Regions from separate parts of the Homo sapiens genome. Here all the other regions are linked to region 2. The links are contacts of gene promoters, found by promoter capture Hi-C in blood cells and fetal thymus (Javierre and others, 2016). All regions are on one chromosome and are shown on one strand. Each heading gives the region's core, a stretch centred on a gene start or on the middle of the fragment in contact. The rest is flanking DNA. Distances are from core to core; before and after follow the strand shown.

The links. Contacts are between HindIII fragments. The CHiCAGO score rates a contact against its expected background, and 5 or more counts as called.
Region 1: the fragment with the promoter of CITED1 here is called in contact with the fragment with the promoter of NAP1L2 in region 2 in 4 of 17 cell types (non-activated CD4 T cells, naive CD8 T cells, activated CD4 T cells and 1 more); the score reaches 7.8 in non-activated CD4 T cells.
Region 3: a fragment that was not itself captured here is called in contact with the fragment with the promoter of NAP1L2 in region 2 in 1 of 17 cell types (naive CD4 T cells); the score reaches 5.2 in naive CD4 T cells.

What each region holds. Positions count from the first base shown.
Region 1 is chrX:72,304,662-72,309,076 of GRCh38, forward strand. CITED1 (Cbp/p300 interacting transactivator with Glu/Asp rich carboxy-terminal domain 1) reads right to left here and starts at 1,253. Exons shown (of 3, transcript NM_001144887.2): 1 at 1,164-1,253. LOC105373250 (a long non-coding RNA gene) reads left to right here and starts at 1,441. Exons shown (of 3, transcript XR_938441.2): 1 at 1,441-1,559; 2 at 3,782-3,937. RefSeq lists a silencer at 2,238-2,532 and enhancers at 2,259-2,308, 4,225-4,415. The HindIII fragment of the contact is 8,247 bases long and covers 1-3,910 here.
Region 2 is chrX:73,212,583-73,216,824 of GRCh38, forward strand. It overlaps NAP1L2 (nucleosome assembly protein 1 like 2), which reads right to left and starts at 2,269. Exons shown (of 1, transcript NM_021963.4): 1 at 1-2,269. The coding sequence starts at 1,910. The coding sequence ends at 528. The HindIII fragment of the contact is 1,643 bases long and covers 1,558-3,200 here.
Region 3 is chrX:73,976,257-73,980,722 of GRCh38, forward strand. The region is part of intron 2 of JPX (JPX transcript, XIST activator); the gene reads left to right. Among named protein-coding and RNA genes, the nearest start is that of JPX, 34 kb to the left of the region's middle. RefSeq lists an enhancer at 1,334-1,893. The HindIII fragment of the contact is 1,950 bases long and covers 1,678-3,627 here.

The DNA.
Region 1 (4,415 bases), core at 3-2,502, 910 kb before region 2:
ACCAAAAGAGAAACATTAGAAAAATCAAAAGAGAGAACGAGCAAAAAAACTCTCTCTATTCTGATATCAGTTCGTGGGGGAAGACCATTTTACCGCGCCTCCCTCTTCAATCTGGGAGCTCCCCCAGAAGAGGCCCTGTGTCCATTCAGATCTTCTGCCTTCCATTACTGACCCACCACCCACCCTGACCCCAGCCTGGGTCTGCGCTCAATAGGCGCTCAGTAAGTGTTGTTGAATGCGTCTGAAGAAGCAATCGCATTTCCATCGGCATCCCTGGCTCTGCTTCCCCGGCTTTCTGCCCTCCTCCACCACCCTCTAGCCCGTTCGTGGGCAAAACTTGGCAACGCGGAAACGTCCCAGCCCGCTCTCCAAGCCGCGAGCTGACCACTGCGAAACGGCTGCGACAGGCGGCTGGGAAACCTAGAGCAACAAGTGCCTTCTCGCCGGCTGATGCCTGGCGGCCCCCCGGCCACCAGTTCCCAGTCCCGCTGCCCGCTCTTCGCTTCAGGCCTTCCCTTGGGCGAGCAGCCCCCTCCCGCCTAGACAGGGGTGGGAAGGGGAGAGGGAAAAGAGAAGGGAGAGGCAGGTGGGGGCCTCATCTTTAACCTGTTGGGGGACCAAAAGTTAAAATGGCACCAACCGGATGGTTCCATCTCGATTGCTATTTTCTCACTCAGAAGGAGAAATTTAAAAATCCAAACAGCACTGCGGCTTGGCTTGGACGCGCTCTAACCAGACCAGTCAGTTTCGCCACCTGAAAACTAAAGGCCCGTTGTTTGCGGACAGCTCGGCTGCCCTCCTCGCCGCATCCCAGATGGAGCCGCGGAACCGGGGGCGGCCGGGAGCATCCCTTGCACGGCGGGCGCGTGCACCCAGGCCACCGGGGCCCTGAGCGTCCGTTCCCGCAAGTGCTGTATCAGGAACTGATCTTAGAGACAGGATGGACAGGCAGGAAGGGGCACGGGGTGTCGGCCTCCGCGGCGAGTCCGCACTCCGGCGCCGGCTGCTGCCACTCTCGCGCCTGATCAACACTTACTGAGCGCCCGCTGAGCATCCGACGCGGCAGCAGGCTGAGCCTACCCCCTAGCCAAGCCGCCTGCGGTCAGTGCTAAAACCCCGCTAGGAGAAGAGTGAGAGAGGCTCGGAGAGGTGCGGTAACTTGCCCAAGGTCACAGCGCTAGAAAGTGGCGGAGCCGGGATTCGCAGCCAGGTCTCTCTGACTCCAAGTCCGGTGCTCTGCGAAGCAGGGACTCGGCGCGCGGCTCGCCAGCCCGCGTTTATAGGGAGAGGGGTGTGCGCGTGGGTGTGTGTGTGTGGGCGTGTGTCGGGGGAGGGGAGGGCTGAGGTCGACTGGGCAGTAGAGGCAAGTTGCCCAAATTCGCTAACTTCCATCCCGCAATTCCGCTGAACTCGGCCCGAAAAGCCCCCTCTTGCCTCAATTCCCCGAAGTAAATCTGAGCTTTGTGCAGCTCCGGAGCCAGAGCGTCCAGATGCGGTCCGGGAGATTAGCAAAGTCGGTGGAAGCCAAGCTGGAGAAAGCGCGGGCGCAGGGAGAAAAGGTGCTGCCGTCTCCCCGGGAGAAGCGGGCACCCGGCCCCGCTGGCCGGCAGGGGGGCGCGCTGGCAAGCGAACCCGAGCGCTGGCGGGCGGGCGGGCGGGCGGCCCCTCGCCCCCAGCAGAGCAGCTTTCCAACAGAAAGCAAGTCTCCCCAGAACCCTCCGGCCCGCCTGGCGGCCGCCCACTCCCCATACCCGCTCCACGGGAGTCCTCGGCCCCGCCGCCCAGCCCGGCGCCCAGCCCGGCGGCCCGGCTTACCTCTGAGAAGCCGCCTGCCCTGGAGAGAGGGAAGCGCGGAGCTCGGTGAGCCGCAAGAGAGGCGGCGGAGCCCCCAGCCCCTGGCACGCACGCCGCCGCCACCGCTACCGCGAACCGGTCGCGCTCAGCGCCCGCGGCCGCGCCGTTGGCCACCCGACCCCGGGGCGCCTGGGAAAAGCCCGCACCGCGCCGCGCCGCCGCTGCACCGCACAGTGCCGCGCCAAGCAGCCCCTGACCGAGCTGGTGCCCGCCCGCCCGCCCGCAGCTTCGGCGCCGGACTCCGGGGCGGTGGCGGTGGCGGCCACCGCGCTCCCTTCCCGGCGCTGGGGACCCGGCTCTCAAGCCCCCATTGCCGCCCGGAGAGCCCTGACGCACACGCACACGGCAGCAGACTGGCCTCGGCTAGGAATCCCAGGAAGGACAGACCCTTTTTTTCCCTTTTTTTTTCTCCCCTCAATTTCCACGTCTTTATAACCGGCTTAGGGCATTATTAGCACATGTCCTGGCTCGTGGGCGAGTTGGTGGCAAAATCTGAACTGGATACTCACGGAGGGCCCGCGCGGGTGCTGTGCCGTCCGCTGCTCTCTTCCTCCTCACCGAGAACTGCCCCTCGCCGGCGGACTACAAGAGGGCAGCCGGGCAGAGCGAGCTTCCTCTCGGCAGCTCAGCGGTGCCCCTTCTGCAGCTTTGCCGCCGGGCACATTTTTATAGCAGCGGCTGGCGTCTGTGGCCCTTTAAAGGCGCTCGAGCTGGTGCAGTCACCGCGGATCGTGTGAAAGCAAAGGGCCGGCTGGGGAACGGAGTCCACGCGGCCACGCGAGTCCGGCAGCCCTGTGGACCGGCCAAGGCTCCCGGGGTGGGGCTGGCGAGTCCGGGCTATGGGCAGCCCTCGCCCGGAGCCCTGGCCAGTGCCCGGCTTCTAAAGCTGTCGGGGGCCAGGGCCCGGGACACCGGCTCTCCCCACCGCCCTGCGTGGACTTGCCCAATAAATTCCACTTAGTAATTTCACTGAGGCAAAGGAGAGCCGTTAGTGTCTGTTTTCTGACCTAAATCTAGTCGGGGGCCAAAACGGGCTTCAGGGGTTTTGGGAGAGAGCTGTGGGCTCAAGGAGTGACCTGGAAGAGCGGGGCGCACACGAGACGGGGGAATGGTCATTAGTTTTCTGCAGGGCTGTCTTGGAGCCTGTCTGCCTTTTGGGGGGGCTGTACTATCTCATTCGTTGAAGAGCTGAGGCTGGGGGCTCCTTTTCCTCTTAAAGTCGCCAGATTCTGGGCAGAGTCGCATGGGGGGCCTATATGGCAGCGGTGGCTCTTCTAGAAGTTCTGAGCTGGGGTTGGGTTCGAGGGTTTCTGTTCTGTGGTCATCCAGGGCAGGAGGCTGGCAGGATGCGACCCGGAGAAATGCTACTCTCCCGGACCGTGGGGCCAGGTACAGCTCACTAGGCTCGCCGAAAAGCCAACAGTAGGCAACGGGGTACGAAGAGCTTGCCCCAGGGTTCGCGGAGATTCCTCCTGCCTTCCCACGATGTCAGGTTGTTTTATTGTAACTACATAATCATTCCCGTCTAGCAAGAATAACGTTTTGCATTTGGAGTTCGTCTTTCTTAGGTAGAGATGTTGTCTTACAAATCCTTACTGGAAAGAGGTCTGGGTCTTCTCCTTCACCTCAATTCGGATTCTTTGTGGCCAAGAAATTCCCACCTTACCACTTACAGGGAGGCCATCGGGATTACCCCTCTGTCACCCCCCCACCCCGCCCCGGCCCCGCCGCTCTTTTTTTGCTGCCTTTCAGCAACAGCGACTCAGTTTACACTGTTTATAAAACATACTCTTTAAGAAAAGGTCCTGATGTTAAAAAAGGGGGGGAGGGAATGTCACGAAGTCATTTTCACTATGTATGTGTTCTGTCTTCTTAATTGGATTTGAAGACCTGAAGTTCTCTTTTTCTTTTCTTTTTCTTTTTTTAGTAGCCCCAAGTGCCCTGCATTTGCTCTTCTAACAAAGTTCTGTTTGTTGACGGACTGACCGGCTTACCGACACAAAGATGGGAAGCAAATGGAGAGACGGATCAAGGCCCTTCCTCGGCATCTGGAGGAAGCTTGGGCGAGTGTCTTGGTCGCCAGGTAAACCCATTCTCCAGCCCTCAAGGCTGCCTTGCACAGCTCCAGTCTTTTCACTTACCCTGTCCCAACACAAACCCCGGTAGCATCCACACCCCACACATCTTCGCTGCACTTTCTCACTTTGCTTGCCAGATTGTGGGCCCTGCCTAGTCTCCCTCTGATAAAAGGCGGGATCTGTCGGCACCCTAAAGCCTTACTGCAAACCGCGTGTGAAATACACTCTCAAGTTCTCTTGGTGTTTGCCTGGGATGAAAAAAAATGTTTCTGCGAAAACTAAGTGGTGGAGAATGAGCGACTCTAGGCTTTCGAATTGCATGTTACTAATTTGAACCCCTGACCCACCCTCCCCGTCAGCCCCGGCTTGGCTCGGGAGCAGGTCTGGCAACAGCGGCAGCTTCTCCGCTGCAGGCTCCGGATCCGGGAGGTGTGGATCCGCCCTCCATCTATTGGATGGCTCCCAGGCCAATTGTTAGAAAGA
Region 2 (4,242 bases), core at 1,019-3,518:
ATTAACAATAAATGTAGTTTTGCCTGAAATTCTTATCTATATGCAGGCCTCTTAAGCATCCAAGTTTTAAATTCTACTGCATTGTTATTGCAAAATGAAGCAGGCACAACAAAATTAAATCCACTAGCTAAAGGACTAAGTAAACAAAAATAGAAAAAGAAAAACAACAACAGCGAAAACCCTTGGGTTGTTTCCCAAGATTTTTTTTCCAAACAAATATTGATCTCACTTAGCATTTCTGATCATTTCATAGCCACAGATTAATAGCTACATGACAAAAAGACTTCAGAAGGATTAAGCTACACAACACTATACTAGTGTTTTAAATCATTTACCACAGTGTACATTTCTTGAAAACATTCTACTACTAAAACTCAAGGTCAAATTAATTAGTTTTTGAACTTTTCTTATATTTTTGAAACATATGTTTTAACTAACACTACAAGAAAAATACAGAACACAAGGCTTCTTATACCTTGAGTAACTATATCTAGGGCAGTTAATTTCAGGGCCATGTATACTCTGCTCTAACGATCAATGTCTTCTACTAATGCCTCAAGGTTTTTGCAACAAGCTTTAACTTCCTCAATTGCAGCCATCCAATTATCATAAATAATTTTGTCATAAATTGCATCATTAACTTCTCTAACTACCCCCTCCTGCTGAGATTCCAGTGCATCACCTGAGAAAAATAATACTGATCTTGGAATTATGTAAGTACGTAAATTGTGACCAAGTAAAAAATCATCATTTCCATCCCTTCCATTTGAGGTGATTCCATGAGGAGAGAAAAAATTGAAAAATGAATCCTTGGGAAAATCTTCAGTTACAGTTCGGATTGTTCCCCAGATCCGATGTTTCTGTTTCTTCTTGATGGTTTTCAAAGTGACATTCTTTCCTTCATTCCAATCTATCTCACAGCCTGTGGAATACTCAATCGCAGTTCCCCTATAGGGATGGGGATCATAATATGCTAGCTTTGACTTCAGCACATAGGTCTTTGTCAACAACTCATTTTTGAAATATTCATTGGGTTTGAAGTGAAATTCTAGTGTGAAACTGAGGGGCTCGCCAGGATCTGAAAGCTTAACTTTAATATCTGTCAGGAGCTTCAGAATAGGCTCATCATATTTCTTAATCAAAGGAGTGAGTGTATCAACGTTTTTTAAAACAGTTAGCCAAAAATCAGGAATTCCCTTAGGATCCTCCTCTTCTTTATTCTCTTCTCCAGTAGCCTCAATGTCGTCCTCCTCCTCCTCCTCCTCCTCCTCTTCCACAGCATAATCATAATAATAGTCCTCATAACCATCGTCCTCATCCACATATTCATGTACCATACCCTCCTCATTACCATACATCTCTTCATGACACATTTCCTCATCATCACAGTCCTCAGAGTCTGATTTATATTCACATTCCTCTTCTGTAGGTTCATAGATTGCATTGATGATCTGACGTCTTTTTTCCAGTAAGGGTTGGTACATTTCAGCAAACTTTCTTTCAATGTCATGAAATTCCCTCAGGAATTTGGATTCTAAATTGGCCGCTCTAGTTTGAAGCTTTTTAAGGGCTAACACACGGTACTTAACTTTCACAGGTAGACTTTCAACAAAGTCTGTATCTAAAACATAACCGATAAGTCCTTTTGGACGGTCTGCCTCTGAGTCCTCATCAGTATCGCCACCTTTTTTCCCATCTTCCCCGGACCCAGCAGCAGTATCTTCACCGTTTTCCCCTTCTTCCCCAAGCCCAGCGGCAGCTTCTTCACCGCACTTCCCATCGTCTCCAAGCCCAGCAGCGGCATCTTCACCGCGCTCCAGATGTTCCCCGAGCCCTTCCACCATTATCTGATTACCAGCCTCTTCTTGACTGGATTCTGACAGCTCCTTGCGGTTCTCTGACTCGGCCATTTTTCAAAGGACCGTACACGCCTAAGGTGGCTACCACAGAGATCGGGAGACCAAACCTCCACAGGAAAAGACTCACCGAAATATCAGAAGCGGCGGTGGTCGGACCTAGCAGTGGCGTCCGGACTGAGGGAACGACGATCCAGGCTGCTCGGGGATAAAAGATGGTGCTGAGGCTTTGAGAACCGGACTGAAGCAGTGGCGACCTGGGCTGGGTGCAGAGGGCGGCGACGGCTGCGTTGACCGATCCTGCAGGAGAGAGCCGGAGACTGCAGAGAGCTGCAGTGGGCAGACCTCCTCCGCAAGCAGCTACTGCTGCAAGAAAAAAACGGTGCCGCAGTATGATTACGCAGCTATCACTTGCCTAAAATTTCTAGGTGCAAATAGATTGCTGCGTCACCTCCTTCCCTCCCACAACTATGCTCTAATCTCATTTGCTGCAATGTAGTGACTGACAAACCCAGAGCCAGTAAATTATTAGATCTATCAAGTTTTCAACTCTGCTCACCTTCCCAGGCTCTCTAACATGGCTGATTCATCCACCTCCTCCTCGTCCTCTAGCCCATCTCCCGCAGAGTTTTCTGGAATCCCATTGCGTTCATTAGTTCATTCATCCAACTTTTAACAGATATTATACTTTTATGCTTTCCAGAGAGCTCAGAGAAAACGTAACTAAAATGTCGAACAATGAGAGAAGACAAGGCACCCACCCATCCTAAATCAATCTCTTTGATTTTAGATCGGGGACCTGGGGAGGGGAGAGGTGGATGGTGGAAGAGCTGATAAACAAACGCTTCAAAGATTAAAAACACCAGGAATTAGCACTGATGGTCTTTAGGTGGCGTGTCAGTTATTTAAATATTCTATATTATGTTTGTCGGTATTTTTCACAAGCTATATGATTTTAGGTTGAAAAATTCTCGAAACATTTCCTGTGAGGGGAGGAGGAGGAAGTCCGATGGCAGTGGGGGCGAATGAGGGCCTGTGATGAAAAACTAGTATGGTGTATACAACTACGTGACTAGTAAACATACCAGACAATTAACCACAATTAACCAGTTGCCTGGCTTATAAATAACCCCAGTCCCAATACTGACTTTCTGCTTCTCCTTCTTAATGCTGGCTTTAACAGCCGTTAGAAATATACATATATACAAAAGCCAAAATGGAAAGTTATGTTTATTCTTAGAAATCATAACATTTGCTTGATGCTTTTGAGTTAATTGGAAATAATCTAAATCTCAGCATTAAAGAAATGGTTAAACTATTTGATAATGTATTTATAGGATGGAAAGCTTTGCAGTAATTAAAATTTCCTCTCTATAGTAATTATTGGTGAGGTTTATTTTGTTCATATTTCTAACTTGGATCATTTATTAATTGAACAATTTTTTAAAATTTTAAGTGACTATTATTTTCCAGATTTAAAGAATTTGTTACTATCACAGATATTAAAACTGTTTACATATTGTTGTATTTATTTCTAAATTCTGTCAGTTTATAGATAAATTTTTCCTTTAAGTGAAAATACCAGATACAAAAGAACAAATATTGTATGATTCTACTTTAATTAGGTATCTAGAGCAGTCAAATTCACAGAGACAGAAAGTAGAAACATGGTTTTCAGAGGCTTGGGGTAGGGAGGAAAGGAAGTTATTGTTCAATGTGTATGGAGTTTCAGTTCAAGAAAAAGAAAATATTCTGGAGATGTATGGTGATGATGGTTCACAGCAGTGTGATTGTACTTAATGCTCCTGAAATGTAGATTTAAAAATAGGTAAAATGGTAAATATTATGTTATGTATATTTTATCATAATATAAAGTGTAGAGAAAAATATTTTAAAGACCATATTCAATATAGTACTGGAAGTCCTACCCAGAGCAATTTTGCAAGAGAAAAAAATAAAGGACATACATATTGGAAAGGAAGTTGCTAATTTATATCCTTGTTCAAAGAAGACATGATCTTATATTTAGAAAAACCTAAAGACTCCACAAAAAAACTGTTAGAACTAACAAATTAAGTAAGTTTGCATGAAGCAAAATCAACACACATAAATTAGTAGCATTTCTGTACACCAGCAGCAGACAATTTGAAAAAATCAAGAAAACAATCCCATTTACAATAGCTACAAGAAAATAATACATCTAGGAATAAATTTAACCAAAGAAGTGAAAGATCTACGCAATAAAAACTATAAAAACACTAATGAAAGAGATGAAGAGAACCCCAAAATGGAAAGATATCCTATGCTTATGGATTAGAAGAATCAATATTGTTAAAATGTTTATACTACCCAAAGAAATCTACATATTCAATGCAATCTCTATCAA
Region 3 (4,466 bases), core at 1,403-3,902, 760 kb after region 2:
CTTTTAAAATTTTCTTCAACAACATTGTGTAGCTTTCTTTATACAAATCTTGCAGGTGTTTTGTTGAATTATTCCTAAAGATTTAGTCTTTTTGGTGCTATTTTGTATGGAATTGATTTCTTAATTTCATTTTTGGATCATTCATTGCTAGTATGAAAACAGAACAATTTATTATATAGGTTTTTTGTTTTTTTTTTTTTTTTTAGATGGAGTTTTTGCTCTTGTTGCCCAGGCTGGAGTGCAGTGGTGGATATTGGCTCACTGCAACCTCTGTCTTCTGGGTTCAAGCAATTCTCCTGCCTTCTGAGTAGCTAAGTATTACAGGCGCCCACCACCACGCCTGGCTAATTTTTTTGTATTTTTAGTAGAGATGGGATTTCATCACGTTGGCCAGGCTGGTCTTGAACTGCTGACCTCAGGTGATCCACCCACCTCAGCCTTCCAAAGTGCTGGGATTACAGGTGTGAGCCACCGCACCCAGCCTATAGGTTTGTATTCTACAGCCAACTCTTCTCAGAGGAAGTATAGATAGATATGTATACTAACCCATGTATAGCTACATATTTATACACATTTTTATATGTAACTATCGATTTTTTTAAGTTAAATGTGAGTTCATACTGGTATTTCTAACTAATCCATTACCACATGGTTAATTCTAGTCATATCTCCTTGTTTGTCTGTCCTCACTCTCTCACTCCAATAGGAAAGAGCCTGTCTCCTAACATTTACCATTCATTTACATAATTGTACTATCCCATTATACAGGTATAACTGTTTCAGAATTGTTGATTTTTACCCTTACTGGAAACAACTCTATCAACTGGAGTATAATGCTTATGTATAGCTTCTTTTGCATTTAGTCTTACAGACTCCACTTATTAATGGTGAGAGACTGGACATACTGCTCAGATCGGGAACAATGCAAAGATGTCCTCTCTCACCACTCCTAATACAAGAAAAGGAAATATAGACTGGAAGGGAAAAAATAAATCTTTATTTGTAGATTATAAGATTGTCTACATAGACGTTTTTAGAGCATCTCCAGAAACCTAGAACTAACAAATGGGAGTAAGAAGGACACAAGGTATTACAGTTACTTTTCATTTTCTGTTAGTTTTGGCATCTCATATTTAAGTCTGGTTTTCAAGATTGCATTCTTTTCAGATGGTATTTTTTTCTTTGTTTTTGTATACATTATAATGTTGAGAGTCAAACATATAAAGTAGTAGATACTGAGGTATATATATGTATTTTCTTTGCGATAAGCACACCTTTCCTTCATCTAGGCTATTAGCGTGGAGGTTTTTGTGAAATTAGTCAGGAGTTGGTCTGGGATTGAAGTTTTGTTGTTACCATGGTTACTCTCTGTGTATCAGAAACTTCAAACCCTATAATGATACCTTGTTTTTGTGTCCTTGTTTGGCGTGGGTTTTCACCTTTTCACTCTTCTCTAGAGAAGGCCTGTGGTTTTCAGCTTTCCCCTGTGCATTACTTTAATTTTATTTGATGTTTAGTCTGTGGTTGGGGCGAAAAAGAGGCATGTTCTCTAATGTTCTAATTTAAACTCAGTCTTAAGTAGGCACTGTGAATCTGGGTCTTGTGGGTGTGGCTGTCATAAGTCTTTCTTTTCCAGTCAATGCCTAGTATTTATTCCCATTCCTCCCCTATGGCTAAAGCTTTATGTGTTCCTTACCTCCTTACCCAGCCCCTGTTGCTTCCACTCCAGGGTGTCCCTGCAAATTGCTCTAAGGTTTTTGCTTCTTAGGCGAGATAGGAGACGGGCCTCTGGGGAATTTTGGTCTGCTTTATATTCCCTTCCACTGCTTCATGATCTTTTCTGTAAATGAAGAACTTTTTTTGGTGGGGCGTGGTGGTTCACGCCTGTAATCCCATCACTTTGGGAGGCCGAGGCGGGCGGATCACCTGAGGTCAGGAGTTTGAGACCAGCCTGACCAACATGGAGAAACCCTGTCTCTACTTAAAATACAAAATTAGCTGGGTGTGGTGGTGCATGCCTGTAATCCCAGCTACTCAGAAGGCTGAGGCAGGAGAGTCACTTGAACCCGGGAGGTGGAGGTTGCGGTGAGCCGAGATCGCGCCATTGCACTCCAGCCTGGGCAACAAGAGCGAAACTTTTTTTTTTTTTAAGAAAGGTAGATTGGGGCAGATTTTCAGCCATAGCTGCTACTCCTTTCCCCCAGATAGTACCAAAGGGGTCTTTCTCTGTGATCTCTGATCTTTCCTGTGGCTTCCTATTGATAACAGCTGCAGGTGGCTGCAACCCCACCCCCATATTTGAAACCTGAGGGGATTCCTATTCTCAGGCCAGCCCACACTTGGCCTTTAGCAATTTATTGTAATTTCTAGTTAAATCTTTCTACCTGCTTTTATATTGATTTTCATGGCATTTGTCCCAGTAATCAAATGCTCAGATTCTGTTTTCCCCTGCAGGCACCTACCATTTTTTTAGATTTCTGTATTTTTTTTTTTCCTGTAACTTCAGTTCTCTGATAGGGTCAAGAAAATCATAACTTTGCTTTTGTCAAGCCTTTTCTAAGTGAGGTAGTGATGTTGTTTCTAGTGCCCTATATATTTGAGATTTGTTGTCTTTGTTATTTTTGTTTATTTCTGTTTCTTATTTTTTCTTCTGTATCATTTGAACATTTTTTAGTATTTTATTTTATTTATTTATTTTTTTTTGAGATGGAGTTTCGCTCTTGTCGCCCAGGCTGGAATGCAGTGGTGTGATCCCAGCTCACTGCAACCTCCGCCTCCCGGGTTCAAGCGATTCTCCTGCCTCAGACTCCCAAGTAGCTGGGGTTACAGGTGCCCGCCACTATGCCTGGCTCATTATTTTTATGTTCAGTAGAGACGGGGTTTCACCATGTTGGTCAGGCTTGTTTTGAACTCCTGACCTCAGGTGATCCACCTGCCTTGGCCTCCCAAAGTGCTGGGATTACAGGCGTGAGCCACCGCGCCCAGGCTTTAATATTCCATTTTAATTATCTTTATTTATTTATTTATTTTGAGACAGAGTCTCGCTCTGTTGCTCAGGCTGGAGTGCAAATGGCACAATCTCAGCTCACTGCAACCCCCGCCTCCTGGGTTCAAGCACTTCTTCTGCCTCAGGCTCATGAGTAGCTGAGACTAACTACAGGTGCATGCCATCACGCCCAGCTAATTTTTGTATTTTCAGTAGAGGCAGGGTTTTGCTATGTTGGCCAGGGTAGTCTCGAACTCCTGACCTCAGGTAATCTGCCTGCCTCGGCCTCCCAAAGTGCTGGGATTATAGGCATGAGCCACCGTGCCCGGTCTTAATTATCTTTTATACATTCGAATTGTCTCATAAATACATATCTAACAGTTTATGTAGATTCAGTGTTTTACCACTTCAGGTAAAACATAGAAGCCTTACATCCATATAAAGCTCTTTATACTCCCTCACTGATTCTTTAAGTAGTTGCCATGTGTTTTACATTTGCATTGTGTTTCTGCTTTCAGGAGTCATACATATTTTAAAGAACTTAAGAGGAGAAAAATAGTCTTTTATATTTACTCAGTAATTTACCACTTCTTTTTTTTTTTTTTAAACCAGTTCTTTGTTCTCTCATTTTTAAAGATCTAAGCTTTCCCTGGGTATCATTTCCCTTCAGACTAAAGAACTCCCTTTATCATTTAATCAGCACTCTGCTTGAGGTGAATTGTCTTAATTTCCCTTCATCTAGGAATGTGTTCATTTCACCTTCATTCCTGAAAGACATTTTCAATCACTGGATATAGAATTGTTAATTGATGGGATTTTTTTCTTGTTGCTCTTTAAAGTTATTTTTCTACTACTGTCCTTCATCGTTTCTGATAAAAAATTTGCCGTCGTTTGAATCATTGCTTCCTCAGATGTAATGTGCTGTTTTTTTAATAGCTGCTTTCAAATTTTTTCCTTTGTCTTTGATTTTCAACAGTTTATAGTATTTCTGGGTGTGTCTTTTCAGTTTATATTGTTTGGTTTTGCTGAAGTTGTTTAATATGTAGATTTATCTTTTATCAGATTGGGAAGTTTTTGGCTGTTATTTCTACAAACTTTTTTTCTGCATGATTTTTTTTTCTCATTCTGAGACTATGATGACATGTATATTAGATATTGTGATATTGTTCCATAGGTCCTGAGGTGCTGTTTGTTCTGTTTCAATCTATTTTTTATTTATTTATTTATTTTATTATTTTTTTTGAGACGGAGTCTTGCTCTGTCGCCCAGGCTGGAGTGCAGTGGCATGATCTCAGCTTACTGCAAGCTCCGCCTCTCGGGTTCACGCCATTCTCCTGCCTCAGCCTCCCAAGTAGCTGGGAGTACAGGCACCTGCCACCATGCCCAGCTAATTTTTTTGTATTTTTAGTAGAGACGGGGTTTCACCATGTTAGCCAGGATGGTCTTGATCTCCTGACCTCGTGATCCGCCCGCCTCAGCC